Linked DNA regions of Homo sapiens: region 2 is linked to region 1. Evidence: promoter capture Hi-C in human tissues and cell types (Jung and others, 2019). All regions are on one chromosome and are shown on one strand. The core of a region is centred on a gene start or on the middle of the fragment in contact, and the rest is flanking DNA. Distances in the headings are between cores, read along the strand shown. Region 1 holds the start of SDR42E1 (short chain dehydrogenase/reductase family 42E, member 1). Region 2 overlaps MPHOSPH6 (M-phase phosphoprotein 6).

Region 1 (2,700 bases), core at 108-2,607:
ATCAAACCTCTTAACTTTATAAATTACCCAGTCTTGGGTATGTTTTTATTAGCAGCATGAGAATGGATTAATACAGGTAGTTTAAAGGTTTAGCATTTAAGCCTCAGGACAATCTTCCGAAGTTGTTACTAGTATTATCATCAGCTTTCAGAAATGAGGAAAATAGATCAGAGGTTAGGAACCTTGCCCACAAATTATGCAGGTCATAAGGGGTTGGGCAGGGTTCAGGACTTGAAGCCGGGTCTGTATGACTCTTAACCACTACATGTAATGCCGCACAATAAGGCTGGGACAATACAGATTCGCTTAGGTCATTATCTTATCACTGTGAAAGGAAAATAAATCTTGGGGTCCCAAGATCACTAAGCTAAAGGGAAAAGTCAAGCTGAGAACTGCTTAGGGCAAACCTGCCTCCCATTCTATTCATGTATCTCTGCTCACTAAAATAAAGGCATATCTGATTGCTTCCTTTGGAGAGGCTAATCAAACTCAAAATAATGCAACCATTTGTCTCTTACCTACCTATGACCTGGAAGCCCCCTCCCCGTTTCGAGTTGTCCCGCCTTTCCAGACCGAAAAACATGTTCATCTTACATCTGTTCTTGTCTCATGTCTCCCTAAAATGTAGAAAACGAAACTGGGCTCTGACCACATTAAGAATACATCGTCAGGACCGCCTGAGGCTGTGTCATGGGTACATGTCTTCAACCTTGGCAAAATAAACTTTCTAAATGAACTGAGACCCGTCTCAGATTTTCAGGGCTCACTCCACCTCCACAATTTCTGTCACATCTGATTCATCTGGTATTATGACTAGCCTATAAGGTTTTGTTTAAACCTACTTACCTTTTCCCAACAAATACATGCAGTTTAAATGGGAACCTGTCACTGCCACTTTTAAGTGGCAAACCAGAACCAAGTGATAAAGAGGAGGTAATCGTTCTCCCAAAGTGTGCAGAAAATCAAAGACAGGAATCAAGTATAGCCAGCCACCTGTGGAAAGTTCGGAGCTTGGGGCCCCGATGTCCTTAAAAACAAAAAATGCGGAGGGCCAGTGTTTGAGGCCTTGGCGACATTCTAGAAAGCCAAGCTGCGCCCGGTCCCCTGGGATCAGGAAGACATCTGAAAGGGGATACTCCTTCCCGCCACCCTGCTCAGTCATTCACCACCGTCCCCCACCCCCGGGACCGCCACCTGTCGCGTTCCAGGCCGAGGCGGTCCAGGGTCCCCGCGGAAGGGCGGCGGCCCCCCAACCCCAGCCCAGGCCCACTCACAGCTGCAGGAACAAGGGCGCGGCAGACGGCTACAGCAGGCAGAGAGGCCCAGGCCTCCTAGCTACCCATCACCACAGCTGGGGCGCCGAAGCCGTCGGACCTGCCTCCTGGAGCCACTTCCGGGCCTCTCTAGGAAGCCTGGAGGTCTCGGAGTCTCTATGACGCGCAGGTGTCTCCTTCACCTTCACCGGCGTTGAGGTAGCAGGAGGTTCGCTTCATGAATTCCCCCACGTTCTCTGGCTGTGCGTTCCGCCGTGGCGGGAACCCTTTTAGGGTCACGTCTTCCCCCACGTCCCCTGTCTGTGCGTTCCGCCGTGGTGGGAACCCTGTTAGGGCCACGTCAACTGCTCTTCCCACCTCCAGTGTCTGCTTTTAGACTTTCACCTCCATCTTTGTTTATCCCCAAGGCCAAGACCAGTGCCTGATAAATAGGCACTCAGGTCAGCATTGCTTGGGTGGATGGATGATGGAAAAGGCTCTATAGGGAGGCAGAATATTCACTCTCCATGTATCTCTTTAAGTTTCTATTATCTCTGAGTTTCCATATCTATGTGTGCCCATAGGTTTTCCTGTGTCCCTAATTTTCCTTATTTCTCTTTGTTCTGGTCGCCAAGCAGGCAGTGATGCCAAGACTAATCTTTGTTGCTGAAGGAACCAAGGAATGCAGAAAGGAAAGTTGGCATCCTCACTCAGAGGTCTCCTTTTGAGGCCCATCTTTTGTCTCCTCATCATGAGTGTGGTTCTGTGGATGGTTGCAGACTGTACACGTGTATGGACATGCATCCTGGAATGGACCCCTGGCTGGGGAGGATTTCATTTTAGTGTCTTGGAGGATGGAAGTTTTGACTTCATGTGGTGCTCTTGCCGATAGATCTGGTACCAAAGGCAGACTCAGAGAGGTTCATATCAATTGCCTGATTTACTGCTCAGTTTTCACTAAGCACACACAGTCACAAGGACAAAGCTCAAGTCCTAGGATATAAAAATTAATGAAGCCCAGGTGAAGAAATCAAGAAGTGCCAGTCCCTGGCACTGGCCTCTCTCATAGGATGCTCTGGCTTTCCTGCCTGTCTTGTCCTCACCTATTAGGCAGGCATAAGTCACAGGAGACTTCTTGTGCTAAGCAGTCTTAAAGAACAGCTTTGCAGTGGCTGCTTAGGATACATAAAAATTAGAAGAGAAGAGGAAGGGTATTCAGGGGGCTGAGAGACCAGCTATATGCTCTTGAGGCCAGCAGCTAAGGAAGAAAAGACCCACTGAGGATGCAGTAAAGAAGACAGACTTCCTTTGGGGAATTACAGGATCCTCTGAGGGATACCCAGATTTAGAGTGTGTGGATAAACATGAGAAATGGTGAATTTAAATGTTAGTATTCTTGTGCCACCGAGGACTCTTTTAAAATATAATCAGGCGTGTTTTAAAGGAA
Region 2 (2,700 bases), core at 87-2,586, 150 kb after region 1:
GCAGGAGGTCAGAGTTACTTGCATGATAACATTAAGATGTCATCTTTTACTGTGTTGACATTTGCAGACTGTGCAAAAGCAACTCTGGGTAAAACGAATCTTAGCATGAGTGAAAGCAGCAGTGATACCAGACTACCCTGGTAGTTACATTCTTCACTGCCAGGCCCTCACAGTTCAAAGAAAAATGCCAGTTTCACATTAGAATGTTCTTGATGACACAGCACAAATTTATTTCTGTTAATCTTAGCCCTCAATTACTTTAAAAAATATTCGGTATACGAAATTGAAACTCTATATATAAGATACTTCTTAGCCGGGCGCAGTGGCTCACACCTGTAATCCCAGCAGTTTGGGAGGCCGAAGCAGGAGGATCACGAGGTCAGGAAATTGAGATCATCCTGGCTAATACGATGAAACCCTGTCTCTACTAAAAAAATACAAAAAAAAAAAAAAATTGGCTGGGCATAGCGGCGGGTGCCTGTAGTTCCAGCTACATTGGAGGCTGAGGCAGCAGAATGGTGTGAACCCGGGAGGTGGAGTTTGCAGTGAGCGGAGATCTCGCCACTGCACTCCAGCCTGGGTGACAGAGCGAGACTCCGTCTCAAAAAAAAAAAAAAAAAAAAAAAAAGATACTTCATCATAGTCAAATAATCTAACTGCACTTGTGTGACTGAACCGAGAGATGAATTAGACACTTTTTTTCAATGTCACACCGTAACTATGGTTTTGCGGGTTTGGGTTCTTTGGCAGACATTTTCTTGAAAATAAATAAAGTGAACCTGACACTTCAAGGGGAATAACTGACACTATTTACTGCCAATAACAAAATTCAAGCTTTCAAGCAAAAGTTAGAATTCCGAATAGCTTTTATCTGTCATCTTGGGCTTGATAGCTTCCCAACACTTAAAAGACTTTTCTGTTGAAACCCACGGTGATACTAATGAATGTGATTTTTGATATTGTATAACAAGATGAGTTAACACTGGGAAAATCTATACAACTCATTTTCCAAATGACAGATGCAGGATGTTAAGAAATCATATACAGGTAAAAGATCTATTTGGAATACAAGACAGACCAAGACATGAAAAATTCACTGGTGTTTTCAGATTCCACGTTGCAATTTACTCTGAAGAAACTACTACTGACTGAGTTTTGGAGTTGTACCAAAGAATTATCTGAAAAGGCCATTGAGATACTCCTCTCTTTTCAACTGTATCACCTGTGTGAGGGGGATTTTCTTTATATACTTCAACCAATACAACATGCTTTAACAGGCTGACTGCAGGCGTTCAGAGTCTAGCTGTCTTCTATTATGCCACAATGTTAAAGAGATTTGCAAAAACAGAAAACAGTGCCACTCTTCTCGTTAAATTTTTTGTCTTGAAAAAGTTATTTGTCATTAAAAATGTGTTAGGTAATGAATTTGTTATTTAAATAATTTTTAAAATTTCTTACATAGTAAATATTAACAAATATAAATCACACAAAACACTCTTTAGGTGTTCTAAATAAATTTTTTTTTTTGAGATGGAGTCTCATTCTGTTGCCCAGGCTGGAGTGCAGTAGCGCAATCTCGGCTCAATGCAACCTCCGCCTCCTGGATTCCAGTGATTCTCCTGCCTCAGCCTCCTGAGAAGCTGGGACTACAGGCACACGCCATCATGCCTGGCTAATTTTTTTTGTATTTTTAGTAGAGACGGGGTTTCACCATGTTAACCATGATGGTCTCGATCTCCTGACGTCGTGATCCGCCTGCCTCGGCCTCCCAAAGTGCTGGGATTACAGGTGTGAGCCACCGTGCCCGGCCTAGGAGTTCTAAATAATTTTTATAAATGCAAATAGCTTCTGAGTTCCAAAACTCTGAGAACCACTGTGATTTTGGTTCCTCTCTCACTGGCCCTCTAGTCTGGCTAGAAACTCACTTACTTCAGAACCGCCTCTCCCTGAGGGAATCTAAATTTGGGCACAGAACTTGCTGTTCAGCTTTTTCTATGAACTTGGGATTCCCTCTCAATTGCCCAATCTTATTCCTTATAGAGGGAGCAGCTGATGAGACCTCCTCAATTCCAAAGTAAATCATCTCTCTCAGGAAAGCACCATACATCAAAGCTTTCACTTAAGGCAAAGGAGGGACCCAGAGAAAGACAACCTCCAGAGGTCAGGACTGGATTCAGAGCAGGACTACTGGCCCCTCAGAGGTTTTTCCCACGGGTTTGCATTGACACCGTATCTTTAATATAAAAAGGAGCACAGGTGTTTTGTATCTACATGCATGGTTTTAAGAATTAGAAAAATTAATTACAGAGTTGGCAAGCAAGTGAAATATTTCAAAACTTACCTCTTTTTGTATTTTAATTATCCAATTTTCATTAATGAGGATAATTTTCAGGCTAAAACACACCCACAAAATTATTTCATAAATTTCGCAGATGAGAAACTACTGCTCAGAAAAAGCTGGACTTGCCTAAAGCCACAAATACCATGGCAAAACTCCAGTTAGAAAACCCTTCTCAGTGGGTCTCACATTCCTGCACATTTTTTGAGTGAGGCACTAACTGCCCGGTTGCTCTGGACTATCTTTGCAAGGATATCTGCATAGCGAGCAGCCTTGAAAAACAGTCTTCCTCTAAAGCGAAGGGCAGATTTGCTTACTGTCCAGCATAATACAGATGCCTCTCTTGGGGCCGAAGGCAAGTC

Evidence for each region. The method cuts DNA at HindIII sites, captures the fragments that hold promoters and counts their contacts. A contact is called where the count stands out against the background at its distance.
Region 2: a fragment that was not itself captured here is called in contact with the fragment with the promoter of SDR42E1 in region 1 in 1 of the 25 tissues and cell types used here (IMR-90 fibroblasts).

Annotation. Positions count from the first base shown.
Region 1 is chr16:82,010,113-82,012,812 of GRCh38, forward strand. It overlaps SDR42E1 (short chain dehydrogenase/reductase family 42E, member 1), which reads right to left and starts at 1,358. Exons shown (of 3, transcript NM_145168.3): 1 at 1,275-1,358. RefSeq lists a silencer at 1,133-1,282 and enhancers at 1,523-1,612, 1,623-1,702. The HindIII fragment of the contact is 11,252 bases long and covers 1-2,700 here.
Region 2 is chr16:82,157,896-82,160,595 of GRCh38, forward strand. All of the region lies in intron 2 of MPHOSPH6 (M-phase phosphoprotein 6), which reads right to left. Among named protein-coding and RNA genes, the nearest start is that of MPHOSPH6, 11 kb to the right of the region's middle. The HindIII fragment of the contact is 4,962 bases long and covers 1-2,700 here.